2 separate regions of the Homo sapiens genome follow, and region 2 is linked to region 1. The links are contacts of gene promoters, found by promoter capture Hi-C in blood cells and fetal thymus (Javierre and others, 2016). All regions are on one chromosome and are shown on one strand. Each heading gives the region's core, a stretch centred on a gene start or on the middle of the fragment in contact. The rest is flanking DNA. Distances are from core to core; before and after follow the strand shown.

Region 1 (7,866 bases), core at 1-2,500:
CCTAATAAACACCCCCAACCTTCCCCCAACTCCTCTACCCCCGCCCCCACCCCGGCACTCACCATCCTTCAAGTCCATGTGTGACCTGATTCTTCTGGGAGGTGAGACAAGAGCTGAGATACAGAAACTGTCACACTGACCCTCTGCGCTTGCAAAAAGGCAGAGGGTCTATTGAGCTGGTTAACACTTAAGCCGTCAGCTGATGGTAAGGCTAAAAGAGCACACTGTAACACACGCCCATTTGGGCTCCGGGAATCACGGGATCCTGCCCCTGGACACTGCCGTGGGGCTGGAAGCCCAGCGCCCCAGCTTTTGCACCCTGGCTCCTGCACCCGTCCGTCTGCATGCTCCACCTCCCATAAGGGGTTTCAGCAGGCAGAGACCGAACACACGAGCCACAACCCTGTTGCACGTCCTGCAAAGGGCTGTGGGAGGGCGGGGGCCGGGAGGAAATCAGGGAACTCTCCTGTTTCATTGTCACAAGACTTGCAAGGCTTCCTTAAGAGAGGGGTACACTTCCCCACCCACTGACAGCAAGTTTTGACCAATAGAAAGTGAGCAGAACTGAGGCATGCGGAATGTGAGTTTGGAAAGCAGCTTGTGCCAGTCATGTACAGGAGCTAATTGTTAAATTTCCAGGAACTTGGCAAGCCACTTGTTGGACTGTTTGTAGCTTGAAATCGGCCATTGTGGGAGCATTTACATCATAGAAATAGCAAACACTACATATCTGGACTTCCCCCTTCTCCCTCAAAGTTGGTTTACCAGCCCAGCAGGGAGCATGGCCCAGAAAAGTTGACCTTTCAGCCTGGAGTGAAGAAAACTGGTGGAGTACTGCCAAAGCTCCCTGCAGCCACAGTAATTCGCTTGAGAAATGGACCTTTAAGCCACTGAGTTGCAGGGGTTGTTCGTTACCTGAGCATCATCTAGCCAAAGCTGGTACACCATGCTGGTGTTTTGGTGAACACCAATAAGCGCCGCCTTCATCTGTCCCAACCTAGGTTGGAGGGATTTCTTCCAATAACTTGTGACATCATGCGCCTACAGCCTGCAAAGATGCAAACCGCGCTCTGAGACTCAGGCCCGGGAATTCAGGTCTTGGAAGGTTAATGCAAAGTTGTAAAACAATAGTTACATTTCAACCACACTCAGCTATTGCGTCATCTTAAAACCCTGGCCAACACAAATCTGTCGCTCGCGATCCTTGGCGGTTTCAGAGCGACTCCCCTACCGCTTTCGGGCGAAGGCCACACGTGACGGCCCCCCTTTCCCCGCAGACGTGTGAATGCAGCGCTGTGTCTTTAAGGGGCACGCGCGGAGGTTTTCCGTCCGGGACAAAATGTCAGCGAGGCGCCTGGAGGGGGATCTACCATCTCGGACTCCCGACCCGCCGCCGGCTCCGGCCGCGTTTCCCGGGTAAAGGGGTGAGTGTGGGCTTCCAGACTCGGTGGCGAGGCGGGCTGGGCCGGGCAGCGGGGAGCGCAGGTGAGCAGCGACCGCGGACGCCCCTGCCGGCCTCCCTGGCACCCGCGCGGGGCGTGCCCTTCGCTGGGCTGCCCTTCTCCGGGCCGGCTGTCGCGACTGTGAGAAAGCAGGTGGGCCCGGGATTCTGTGGCAAGGCCCCGCTCACCGTCTTCCAGTGCCTCATTCTTGCTCCTTCCCTGCACTCCTCTTTCGACAAGCTTGTTCGGAATGTGGAAATTCGTCACCACTCTCCTGCTCTCCCTTTATTAAAGTTGTCTGATTACAGTCTTTTCACTGGGCAAGTGACTGGACGCCCTGCAGTGGGTTCTTTCTGTAACTGGGACTTGCTTGATGTCGCCCACTTTCGGAGGGAGAAAGCGAATGCAAGCCAAAAGCTTACACCAGAATCCCCACCCCTCCCCCACCCCTCATGGCCCCCAAACAAAAGAATTTTCCGCTCCTTTCGGAGTCCGCTGGAGCAGTTTCTGTGATTTCTTGCACGAACCAAATGCCCGAGGCTTAGCAAAGCAAAAACCCCCTTGAAGGAAAAAAATAAATACTTACCACTAGTCGAATTTCTAATGAGCCAAGACTACAAAGATAAGGTGTTTAAGAGAAACAGTTGTAGAAACAGCTTAATACATTGACCTAATTAGGGTAATTATTTTCTGCTGTTTTTATTCATATGCTGACACCTTTTGGAGGCAAGAATAGCTTGAGGCAGCCAAGAATAAAAAAAAAAGTAGACAGCAATACGTATTATAAAAAGACCAAAAGCCCAAGCCAGGTAATTCTCAATTTAAAAATTAAATTAAAAAAATCTTTGAGTCACAAAGGCCTTCAAAGTAGGGCAGCTTTAAATTCCTATAACTCAGATTAAATTATGCATTTTTACAAGATAAAATGGATCACCACCTTAATCTTTAGGACCATATCTATTAAGCAAAGTAATGCAGACCTGAAATAAAGGTCCACTTTAAGGGCAGAACACTTCACAATTTTCATTTTTAAAAGTGCATTAATAGAGAGAGAGAGTGCTTCTCTGCCTTTTAGCTAATGGTAGAAATATCTAAGAGTTTGGCTTATGCCATTTAGGAAACAACTCTGATTCACCCCTTAATTACCTGTGAGTCCAGTGTATTTTTTACAGTCCACATATAACCTTTTTCTAAATTTTTACACATTTTACCATTTATTCCCCAACTCAGGTTTTACAGTTTGGAGGCATTTTTACTTGTCTTTTAACTTCAGCTAAGCCTTCAGCCTGGTGATTCCAGACTAATTTTTCTAATTGTCTGGATCTCTTTATAAATAGATTAATATATGGCAGTAAACTAATATTTCAACAGAGATGGACGGATAACAGATGAACTGTGGTTTTCTTGACACTTCAGTTGTCAACTCTAATTACTTGTATTAATTATTATGCTCTGCTTTCATTAAAGTCACTGGTGGATGAAGTAAAAGAAAATGTTTTTAGTGTTTCCACATATGTCTGTGTGAATTTCACGTTAGTGTGAATTTCTCATCTAAGATCCAGGCTCAACCAACATATATTGATTTAAACTCTGCCTGGTCAACCCAACTACAGTAAGTAGCCTTGAGTATAGAAGGACAAATAGAGGTGTAGTTAATCTGCTATGTCCTTTTGAGAACAGTGCCTGGTTCTTTGGCCTTTAGCCTGCCAAATATTTTTTATGTGCACAAGCATAAGTATAAAATAATACAATCAACTTTTGTAGGTGCTTTATAGGATGAGTCTCAATATTATAGTCATACCTTGTGTATATGCCCATGTTTATACAGATTATTCATCCAGGTTTTGATCTCTTCCTTTATTCTTTATATTGGTATTCAGGGACATCATACTGAGGAATCTGGGATTTAATCTGATAGTTCATCAGAAGGATAGAACTTCTTCAGAAATTGAGTCAAATGGAGAGATAATTAATGTGAATTTATTGTCTTCCACAGGCTTAGATTTAAGAACTCCTTCCAAATAATGGATACTCAAATGAAACTCAGCTATAGCAAGTGCAGAGGCATGGTACCAGCAACACTACTCTCTCTCCTTCCTTGAAATATCTAAAATCTACATTTGTCTTTTCAGTTTTTTTCACCCTGAAATTACACTCAAAAATTTCCACTGTTAATTTCATGTTAGCAGTGCTTTTATTTAGCTTCAAGAAACTTTCTTTTAAAATAGGAGCTTGGAAGCCTCGTTATACAACTGAGGAACTGGAACTTCATTAGAGTCGAGTACTAAGGGTAATGTGTTTTGGTGATGGACAACAATGCGTTTGTGCCCTGTGGGGCATGGGAGGGGAAGGGATGCTGAACTGCATGAACTTTTGTGTTAGGGCCCCTAAGACATCAGCTCCCAGGAGCTGCCCATGCCCACCCCTTCCCCAGTGGAGATTATGTGACGGAATTCACCCGAAGGAGTGAGCACTGATTTCACCTTTACCACAGTGTGTTAGTAATCTGTTTTCGCGCTGCTGATAAAGACATACCCAAGACTGGGCAATTTATAAAAGAAAGACGTTTAATGGACTTAAAGTTCCACGTGGCTAGGGAGGCCTAACAGTCATGGCGGAAGGCGGAAGGCGAAAGGCACTTCTTACCTGGCTGCGGCATGAGCTATAATGAGGGTCAAGCGAAAAGGGCTTCTCGTTTATAAAACCATCAGATCTCGTGAGATTTATTCACTAGCACAAGAACAGTATGGGAGAAACCGCGCTCGTGATTCAATTATCTCTCACCAGTTCCATCCCACAACACGTGGGAATTATGGGAGTAGGATTCAGGATGAGATTTGGGTGGGGACACAGCCAAACCATATCACACAGGTATCAGAATTATTGTTGGAAGCATCTCTTTCCCAACCAGACCGTACGCTTCCTGAGGGCAAAGACTATGTGACGTTCCTCTTGGAATGCTTGGCAGAAAGCACGCACCTGACCTTAGCAGGTGCACAATGAGCATTTGAATGAGAGTTGGATGGAGTGAATGGATGTAAGCAAAATACTCATTCATTGGCATCTTTGTGTTAGTTTAAAAATTTTTTCAAGGAAAAATTAAGGGAGCTTTTTTCATTTTCTTATTAGCTAACCACAGAATTAATGATATGCATTCTCATTGGGTATTTGGTAAGGAAGAAACGCGTTATCACAGGGCTTTGGCTAATTAAACCTCCCCATTATCTTATTTTACCCTAGTGATAAATAACCTATTTTGCATGAAGTTCAATTTAGGAAGTGAAAATAAATTTAAGGGGTAAGGGTCTTGGATCTGTTACTCTTTTTTATTTGCTCTTTGTAGTCAATTCCCAAGGGGATTCCTCCAACTTAGACTACTTACTCTGTTGAATAACATAATGTCAGATGGAAAAACAACTGCCTTTTAGCCATTAAAATCTTAACGTGGGCATGTCTGAGCAGTAAATATCGGTAGTTTCTTTATTGTTCATGTCTTAAATTTATATAACACCGGAGAGTCCAACAGTGACATCATTTGCACTATCTATGATCTCAGCCACCTGTTTAGAGGCAAATAATCTTATTATTTCTCTTGACAGATGGGAAGATTGAGACTCGGGTGGGCTGGGGCTAAAGAAACAGAGTCAGGTTCACTTCACTTAATGCAGCATCCCCCAAGTGTCTACCCTGTGCCAGGGAGATGAATGGGATGAGCTCCTCTTCCATGACATCCTGGGTGTGAACACAGAATCTCCTTCTGCAGAGCACAGCAAACCACGTGACAATGAGCAGCCTCACATGCTGGGTTTCCTCCTCCAAGCGGCGCAGCAGTGGGCTTCCCCATGGGACTGTCCCACCAGCCTCCACAGTTAAGGCTGGGCTGGCCCTGCCTGAGCTCACATGCTTGAGGAGCCAAGGGTTGTTTTGCTTTTTTGTTTTTGTTTTTTGTTTTTCTGAGATGGAGTTTCGCTCTTACTACCCAGGCTGGAGTACAATCGTGCAATCTCGGCTCACTGCAACCTCCGCCTCCCAGGTTCAAGCGATTCTCCTGCCTCAGCCTCCCGAGTAGCTGGGACTACAGGCACCCACCACCACGCCTAGCTAATTTTTTGTATTTTTAGTAGAGACGGGGTTTCACCATGTTGGCCAGGCTGGTCTTGAACTCCTGACCTCAGGTGATCTACCTGCCTTGGCCTCCCAAAGGGCTGGGATTACAGGTGTGAGCCACCACACCCAGGCCCAAGGGTTGTTTTATAAAATTATTTTTTATTTATGTAGAGATCCTGTGATATACACACTTTCCCTAAATGTATACACGTGATCACATGCATGCTTTCTTAGTACCTCATTGCTTTTACTTTTGTGTTTACCTCTTCCCCTTCTCCCTCCTTTCACATCAGTTACCATTGCCTCAACCATAGTATCTCCTTATTTTTCTTCATCTATAGCTATATATTGCCTCTACAGATATGTATATTACTTAATAATAGTGGGATCATATTATACACTCTTCTGCATCTCTCTTTTCTCCCTGAACAGTTCCTCCAGATATCCTTGTAAGACATTGAACAGAACTTCATCCTTTTCCTCTTTAATGGCTGTATAATATTCCCTGGTATGAACATATGTTATATACTCAGCCATTTTCCTGGTGGTAGGCATTCCCTTGCTTCCAGTTTCTTGTCATTCTACATGATTCTGATGTAGATTCTGATGTCATTCTACGTGAACATCCTGATACAAGACTGTGTTTATTGGTGCTGATAGTTCTATAGAAGAGATCCCCAGGAGTAGAATCTCAGGTTATCTTTTTTTTTTTTTTTTCAATACAGCATTTCGCTGTTGTCACCCAGGCTGGAATGCAATGGTGCTATCTCGGCTCACTGCAATCTCCACCTCCCAGGATCAAGCCATTCTCCTGCCTCAGCCTCCCAAGTAGCTGGGATTATAGGCACCCGCCACCATGCCCAGCTAATTTTTGTATTTTTAGTAGAGACAGGGTTTCACCATGTTGGCCAAGCTGGTCTCGAACTCCTGACCTCAGGTGATCCACCTGCTTGGAACTCCCAAAGTGTTGGGATTACAGGCGTGAGCCACCGAGCCCAGCCTCTATTTTTAATTAATATAGAAATTGCAGCTGGCCCTATCACACAGGTATCAGAATTGTTGGAAGCATCTCTTTCCCCACCAGATGGTACGCTTCCTGAGGGCAGAGACTATGTGACATTCCTCTTGGAATGCTTGGCAGAAAGCACGCACCTGACCTTAGCAGGTGCACAATGAGCATTTGAATGAGAGTTGGATGGAGTGGATGGATGTAAGCAAAATACTCAAATTCATTGGCACCTTTGTGTTAGTTTTAAAAAATGTTCAAGGAAAAATTGAGGGATCTCTTACTTTTCATTTTCTTCTTATTAGCTAACCACAGAATTAATGACATGCATTCTCATTGGGTATGCTCACGACTGTAATCCCAGCACTTTGGGAGGCCGAGGCAGGTGTATCACTTGAGCCCAGGTGTTCAAGGAAGACCAGCCTGGGCAACAGAGACCCTGTCTCTACAAAAAATACAAAAATTAGCCAAGCATGGTGGCATGCACCTGTAGTCCCAGCTACTTTGGAGGCTGAGGTGGGAGGATCACTTCTTGAGCCTGGGAAGCAGAGGTTGCAGTGAGCCATGATTGTGCCACTGCACTCCAGCCTGGGTGACAGAGCAAGACCCTGTCTTAAAAAAAATTAAAAAAAAAAAAAAAAGAAAGAAAGAAAAGAAATGGCCAGAATGCTTTCCTAAAATCCATCCCATCTTCACTAGTAATTGAGGAGTGTGCCTTTTCTCTACCTCCCTTGTAACTTTGGCTGTTAGACCTCTTAATGTTTCTTGGTGTGATGGATGTAAAACGATACCTTATTGCTACTTTAATAGCATTTCCCTGAATATAAGTGATGTTGTGCACCTTTTCATAAATTTCCTGGCCAGTGGAGCTGTTAGGTCATTTGCCTACTCATATTTCTCGTCTGTTTTTCTGTCGGTCTTTTTGTCTTTTTATTGTGTTTGAAGAGCTCTTTGTGTGTTACGGTTGTGGCTGAAGTGTCTGAAGAGGTTTCTCCCCCTCCACATTGCAGGGGCAGCTGAAATGCACTCGAGTTTTTTGTTTTTTGTTTATACTTTAAGTTCTAGGGTACATGTGCACAACGTGCAGGTTTGTTACATATGTATACATGTGCCATGTTGGTGTGCTGCACCCGTTAACTCGTCATTTACATTAGGTATATCTCCTAATGCTATCCCTCCCACGCCACCCCACGACAGGCCCCTGTGTGTGATGTTCCCCACCCTGTGTCCACGTGTTCTCATTGCTCAATTCCCACCTATGAATGAGAACATGCGGTGTTTGGTTTTCTGTCCTTGTGATAGTTTGCTCAG
Region 2 (7,866 bases), core at 2,959-5,458, 410 kb before region 1:
GGAGCTGTGATGGAGAAGAGGTACTCTGGTGTTTAGAATTTTCAGTTTTTCTGCTCTGATTTCTCTCCATCTTTGTGGTTTTAATCTACCTTTGCTCTTTGATGTTGGTGACCTACCAATGGGGTGTAGATGTCCTTTTTGATGTTGATGCTATTCCTTTCTGTTTGTTAGCTTTCATTCTAACAGTCAGGACCCTCAGCTGCAGGTCTGTTGGAGTTTGCTGGAGGTCCACTCCAGACCCTGTTTGCCTTGGTATCACAAGCAGAGGCTGCAGAACAGCAAATATTGCTGCCTGATCCTTCCTCTGGAAGCTTTGTCCCAGAGGGGCATCCACCTATATGAGGTGTCTGTCAGCCCCTACTGGGAGGTGTCTCCCAGTTAGGCTACATAGGGGTCAGGGACCCACTTGAGGAGACAGTCTGTCTGTTCTCAGAGCTCAAACGCTGTGCTGGGAGAACCACTGCTCTCTTCAGAGCTGTCAGACAGGGACATTTAAGTCTGCAGAAGTTGTCTGCTGACTTTTGTTCAGCTATGCCCTGCCCGCAGAGGTGGAGTCTATAGAGGCAGTAGGCCTTGCTGAGCTGCGGCGGGCTCTGCCCAGTTCGAGCTTCCCGGCTGCTTTGTTTACCTACTCAAGCCTCAGCAATGGTGGATGCTCCTCTCCAAGCCAGGCTGCCGCCTTGCAGTTCAATCTCAGACAGCTACACTAGCAGTGAGCAAGGCCCTGTGGGTGTGGGGCCCGCTGAGCCAGAAATGGGAGAGAATCTCCTGGTCTGCCAGTGGCTAAGACCTTGGGAAAAGCGCAGTATTTGGGCAGAAGTGTCCTGTTTTTCCAGGTACAGTCTGTCACGGCTTCCCTTGGCTAGGAAACAGAAATCCTGCAACCCCTTGCACTTCCTGGGTGAGGCAACGCCTCGCCCTGCTTAGGCTTGCCCTACATGGGTTGTGCCCACTGTCCAAGCAGTCCCAATGAGATGAACCAGGTACCTCATTTGGAAATGCAGAAATCACCCATCTTCTGTGTCAATCACGCTGGGAGCTGCAGACCGGAACTGCTCCTATTTGTCCATCTTGGAACCTCCTGAAATATGTTTCTTGAGAGCAGGGACTACAAGATTCAAATTTTAAAGTTTTTAGTATCTTTTTTGGTTTTTAATGTAATGTCTCACAGCACATTCTAGTTCGTCTGCCCTTCTTTATACCTATTAGAAGCAGCTTGTCTATCTACAGGAAATCCTCTGGGATTTTCATTATGATTTGGTATCTGAACCCTAAGATTTCTTTTTAAGAACATTTTAAACTATGAATTCAATTTTGTAAATGGTTATGGGACTACTTAGGTTACCTATTTGAGCTTGAACAGATTTTGGTAATTTGTGATATTTGAGAAATCACTCCATTTCATCAGTTGTTAAATTTTTGTGTGTAGGGTTATTTATAATACTCTCTTATTATCCCTTTAATGTCTGTGGGGCCTACAGTAATATCCCTGCTTTCATTCCTTATACTGCTAATTTTTATCTTTTATTTTTTTTCTTTGTCAGTCTTGCTAGTGGCTTATTAATTTCACTGATCTTTTTAAACACCAGCTTTTGGTTTTATTGATTTTCTCCATTTAAGTTCACTGACTCTTGCCTCTGTCCTCTCCATTCTGCTATTAGTTCATCCACTGAGTTTTAAATTTTGGTTATTGTATGTTAAATGTAAAATTTTTCATTTGGTTCTTTCTATTTTATATGTTCTATTTCTTTGCTGATACATTGTGTTTTAATGTTTGTTTCAAGAGTGTTTATAATTGCCATGCCAGCATTTTTATAATATGTTTTAAAGTCTTCGTCAGGTAATTCCAACATCTGTAGTTTTGTCATTGGCAACCGTTGATTATATTTTTCCATGTGAGCTAAGACTTTTGTGTTTCTCCATATGCCAAGTAATTTGGGCTTATACTCCTAGACCTTTGGAATATGACACTATGAAACTTGGTTTTAAGTCCTGTGGAGACTGTTGGTATTTTTTTTTAACAAGCAATTAACCTGACTAGGTTAGGCACAAGTTGTAACTCACCTTCTGTGAGCTGTGGCTCTAATGTTTGTTCAGTTTTAATGCCTTTACAGTGTTATCTGTATTTGTCCCATCTAGTAATTAGTCTCGGGCCCAGGCAGAATTCTATTAACTCAGTTTACACTAATTAGATTAAGAGCCTTGCATATGAAGATAAGGAAGGTGTGCCTACATGTTCATATAAAAGTAATTGGGGTTGCTTTCCTGAACTCTTCTATTTCCACTATCTCTCTGGTACTTTCTGTTTCCTTGGGGTTTCCCTTTTTGGAAACCACCCCCTTTCGTAATTGCTCCACCTCTGGTGCCAGTTAGTGGAAGGGTAGAAAGATGGGAAAAAACAGGTCTGGGTTTGGATGCACTCTTTTGCAGCATGAGCTCTACCGAATGGAGAGGAAGTCTCCCTTCCCTTAGAGTTTTGGCTCCTGCAGTCTCCTGTTGGTAGCCACTGTAACAGCTGCCACCATTACTGTGGGATATTTTGGAGTCTGAGGCATAAGAGAATGGACAAAAAGGAGAGGAAAAGACCCAGAGGATTCCTGCATTCTCTCTAAGCTTTGGGAGTTCCTCTTCCTGCAGTTTCAGCCACAACTAGAAGGTACACCTTTCTCTTTCTGCACCACAGTGCTCCTTTCCAGATTTGAGGTTGCATTGGATTCAGGCTGGGGAAGCTGCTGAAGAAAAAAGAAATGCTGACTTGCTGGTAATTTGAATTCTGGTATTCTTCCCCATTCCTCCTTTTTCAGAGTCCTTAAAGAGTTACGTCATCTATTTTGTTCAAGGTTTATAGTTGTGTTCAATTGGAGAGAAAGAGTGACGTGTATTTATCCTATCTCACTCAGAACTGGACTTTTATTAAGTTTTCAGGGTTCTTTATATATTCTGGAGAGAAGTCCTTTTTCACCTACCTAATTTGCAAATATTTTCCCTAGTCTATTGCTTATTTTTTATTCTCTTAACAGTGTCTTTTAAAGAACAGAAGTGTTAATTTTGATGTAGTACAATTTATCAATTTTTTCTTTTATGGATTGTACTTTTGAGATAAAATCTTTAAAAAGTCACAATGGTTTTTTCTTTTTTTCTTTTTCTTTTTTCTTTTTTTTTTTTTGATGGGGTCTTACTCTGTCACCCAGGCTGAAGTACAGTGGCATGAACATAGCTTCCTGCAGCCTCTAGCTCCTGAGCTTAAGTGATCCTCTTGCCTCAGCCTCCTGAGTTACTGGAACCACAGGCACCTGCCACCATGCTCGGTTAATTTTAAAACTTTTTATAGATATGAGGTCTCGCTATGTTGCCCAATCTGGTCTTGAACTCCTGGGCTCAAGCAATCCTCCTACCTCAGCCTCCCAAAGCGCTGGGATTATAGGCTTGAGACACCATGACTGGCCTCTCCATGTTTTATTTTAGAAGTTTTATAGATTTAGGTTTTACATTTATGCCTATGATTAATCCTGTATTTTGCTTATGGAATGAGATATAAATTGAAGTACATTTATTTGGATATGGATGTCAAATTGTCTAGCACAATTAACAAAAAGACTTTTTCAATAGTCTTTTCTACACTGACTGCCTTTACACTTCTGTAAAAAAATCAGTTATCCATATATATGTGGCTTTATTTTGGTACTCTATTCTGTCCCATTGATCTATTTATCTCTTTTATTGTGGTAAAATATACTAACATATTTGTCATTTTAACCATTTGTAATTGTACAATTCAGTGACATTAAGTACATTCACAATATTGTATAATCATCACCACTATATACAAATGTTTTTCATTGGTCTCAACATAAACTCTGTACTCATTCAATAATAACTCCCTATTTCCCCCTCTCCCATCCCTGGTAACCTCTGTTCTATTTTCTGTCTCTATGAATTTACCTATTCTAAGTATTTCATAATAGTGGAATCATACAATATTTATTCTACTGTGTTTGGTTTATTTCACTTAACATATGTTTTCAAGGCCCATCTATGTTGTAGAATATATTTAAAAATTAATTCCTTTATGACTAAATAATATTTCATTATATGCATACATCACATTTTATTTATCCATTCATCTGTGGATGGACACTTGGGATGTCTCCGGCTTTTGGCTATTGTGAATAGTGCTGATGTCAACATTGGCCCAAATATCTGTTGAGTCCTTGCTTTCATTTCCTGTAGATATATGCCTAGAGGTGGACTTGCTGGGTCATATGGTAGTTGTATGTTTAACTTTCGAGGGTTGCTAAACGATTTTTCACAGTGGCTGCTCCATTTTACATTTCTATTAACGATGCACAAGGACTCCAATTTCTCCATATCCCTATCAACATTTATTTTCCAGCTTAAAAAAATTATAGGCATCCTAGTATGTGTGAAATGGCATGCCATTGTGGTTTTGATTTGCATTTTTCTAATGACTAATTATGTTGAGCTTCTTTTCAGGTGCTTAATGACCATTCATATACCTTCCTTGGAGAAATGTCTACTCAAGTCCTTTGCCCAGTTTTAATAGGGTTGTTTTATGTTGTTGTTGTTGTTGAGTTGTAGGAGATGTTTATATATTACAGGTATCACTTCCTTATCAGATGTATGATTTGCAAATATTTTCTTCCATTCTGTAGGTTTTCATTTTCTTGGTAGTATCCTTTGACGCATGAAAGTTCTTAATTTTGATGAAGTCAAATTGGTTTATTTTTTCTTTTGTTGCCTGTGCATTTGGTGTCACCGCCACTAAATTTTGCCAAATTTAATGTGATGAATATTTTCTCCTCCAATTTTTTTTCTTCTAAGAGTTTTACAACTTAGCTTTTAAGTTTAGGTATTTGACTATTTTAAGTTAACATTTGTGTATGGTATAAGATAAGGATCCAAGTTCATTCTTTTATGTGTAGAGATCCAGTTTTCCTAGTACCAATTGTTGAAAAGACTGTCCTTTCCCCATTGGATGGTCTTAGTACACTTGTCAAAAAAATTGACCATATATGTAAGAGTTTATCTCTAGGCTCTCTGTTCTATTCCATTGGTCTACATGTCTGTCCTTGTGCCAGTACTATTACTTTAACTTCGTGGTAAGTTCCACAGTTGGGAAGTGTGAGTCCTCCAACCTTATTTTCTTTTTCAAGATTATTTTGGCTATTTGGGACCCCTTGCAATTCCATATAAATTTGAGGATTATTTTTCCATTTTTAGGAACAAGATTATTGAAATTTTGATAGAGATTGCATTGAATCTGGAGATTGCTTTGGGAAGTATTTATATCTTAACAATGTTGTCTTTCTATCCAAGAGCTTGGACGTCTTTTTATTTATTTAGGTACTCTTTAATTTCTTTCAGCAATGTTTTGTTGTTTTCAGTATAGAAGTCTTTCACCTCCAGGGTTAGATTTATTCCTATGTATTTAATTATTTTAGATGCTATTGTAAATGGAATTGCTTTATTAGTTTTCTTTTTGGATTGTTCATTGCTGGCAAGTAGGAACAACACTAATTTTTTTTGTATTAATCTAGTACCCTGCAACTTAGCTGAATTTATTTATTAGCTCTATACCTTTTTTGTGGATTCTTCAGGATTTTCTATATATAGGGTCATATCATCTGCAAATAGAGAGAGCTTTACCTCTTCCTTTCCAATTTGGATGCTTTTTACTTCTTTTTGTCTACTAGCTCTGGCAAGAACTTCCAATACAGTGTTGAAGAGCAGTGGTCAAAGAGGACATCTTTCTTTTGTTTCTCATCTTAGGGGAGAAGCTTTCAGTCTTTCACCATCGAATGTGATGTTAACCATGGGTTTTTCATAATTACTTTTTATCCTATTGAGGAATTTCCCCTCTATTTCTGGTTTTCTGAGAGTTTTGTGATAAAAGGGTGTTGGATTTTGTAAAATGCCTTTCTGCATCAGTTGAGATTATCTTGTGGTTATCTTCCTTTGTTTTATTAATGTGATGTATTACATTGGTTGATTTTCTTATACTGAACCACTCTTCCATTCCCGGAATAAATCTTACTTGGTCATAGTAAATAATACTTGTTAATATGCTGTTGGATTTAATGTGATAATATTATGTCAAAGATTTTTTTCATCTGTAGTCATAAGGGATATTGGCCTATAATTTTCTCTTTTTGTGATTTTTTTTCTGGTTTTGGTATCAGGGTAATGCTGGCCTTGTATAAGGAGTTAAAAAGTGTTTCCTCCTCTTCACTTTTTGGAAGAATTTGAGAAAGATTTGTGTTAATTCTTCTTTAAATGTTTGGTAGATTCATCAGTAAAGCCATCTGGTCCAGGACTTCACTTTTTTGGGAGGTTTTTGAATACTGTTTCAATCTCTTTACTTGCTATAGGTCTGTTAATATTTTCCATTTCTTTCTGAGTCAATTTAAATAATTTGTGTATTTCAAGGAATTTATTCATATCTTTTAGGTTATCTAATTTGTGTTCGATTGTTCATAGTGGTCGCATAGTCCCTTTTCTCTCTGCAAAGTCAGTAGTAATGTCTCCACTTTCATTTTCAATTTTAGTTATTTGCATTTTCTCTTTTTTTCTTTGTCAGTCCAGCTAAAGGTTTTTAAATTTTTTTCATCTTTGCAAAAGACCAACTTTTGGTTTCATTGATTTGCTCTATTTTTTCTATTCTCTATTTTGTTTATCTCTGCTCTAATTCTTATTATTTCCTTCCTCCTACTAGTTTTGGGTTTCATTTGCTCTTCTACTTCAAGTTCCTATGGTATAAAGTCAGGTTATTGATTTTAGATCTTCTTTTTTAATGTAGACATTTATACCTATAAATTTCCCTTTAAGTACTGCTTTTACCGCATCCCGTAAGTTTTGTCGTGTTGTGTTTTTGTCTCTAGGTATTTTATAATTTCTTTTGTGCTGCTTTTTCTTGTGACTCATTGGTTGTTTGAGTGTTTTGCTTAATTTCAACACATTTGTGAATTTTCCAGTTTTACTTCTGTCACTGATTCCTGTTGTGGTCAGAGAAGATACTTTGTGTGATATCTATCTTTTAAAATTGATTGAGACTTATTTTGTGGCCTAACATATGGTCTATCTAAGAGAATGTCTTACATGTGCTTGAGATGAATGTTTATGCTGATGTTGTTGGGTAGTGTGTTCTTTATATGTTAGATGTAATTAGTTTATTGTGTTGTTTATGTCCTCTATTTCTTTACCTTGTCTGGTTGTTCTATCTATTATTGAAAGTGGACAGATGAAGTCTGCTACCATTGTTGTAGAACTATATCTTTCTTCAATTCTGTTAAGTTTTGCTTCATAAATTTTGAGGGTCTATTATTAGGTGTGTAAATATTTGTAATTGTTTTATCTTCTTGCTATATTGACTATTTTATTAATATATAACATAATGTTTCTGTCTTTGAAAACTTTTTTGATTTAAAGTCTATTTTGTCAGCTGTTAGTACAGCCACTCCAGTTCTCTTTTGGTTACTATTTGCATGGAATATCTTTTTCTATTCTTTCCCTTTTGATCTATTTGTGTCTTTGATCTAAAGTCAGTCTTTCATAGACAGCATATAGTTGGATTCTAGAGTTTGGTTTTTTTTTGTCAATCTGCCTTTTCTTTGGACAGTTTAATCTATTTATATTTAAAGTAATTACTGATAAAGAGGAATTTCTATTTTTCTATTTGTTTTCTATATGCCTTATAGTTTTTTTGTACCTCATTTTCTCTATTACTGCCATCTTTTGTATTTAGCTTATTTTTTGTAGTAAATGTTTTGATTCCCTGATCATTTCCATTTATGTATATTTTACAGGTATTTTTGTGTTTACCATGAGAATTACATTTAACATCCTAAC

Evidence for each region. The method cuts DNA at HindIII sites, captures the fragments that hold promoters and counts their contacts. A CHiCAGO score of 5 or more calls a contact.
Region 2: a fragment that was not itself captured here is called in contact with the fragment with the promoter of ZBED3 in region 1 in 1 of 17 cell types (naive CD8 T cells); the score reaches 5.6 in naive CD8 T cells.

What each region holds. Positions count from the first base shown.
Region 1 is chr5:77,080,669-77,088,534 of GRCh38, reverse strand. It overlaps ZBED3 (zinc finger BED-type containing 3), which reads left to right and starts at 1,250. Exons shown (of 3, transcript NM_032367.4): 1 at 1,250-1,424. ZBED3-AS1 (ZBED3 antisense RNA 1) reads right to left here and starts at 1,820. Exons shown (of 3, transcript NR_182763.1): 1 at 916-1,820. It also overlaps a transcript of PDE8B not described here. RefSeq lists enhancers at 1-387, 388-990, 991-1,592 and a silencer at 1,409-1,578. The HindIII fragment of the contact is 2,300 bases long and covers 1-1,684 here.
Region 2 is chr5:77,494,117-77,501,982 of GRCh38, reverse strand. It overlaps a transcript of WDR41 not described here. Among named protein-coding and RNA genes, the nearest start is that of WDR41, 5.7 kb to the right of the region's middle. The HindIII fragment of the contact is 3,185 bases long and covers 2,616-5,800 here.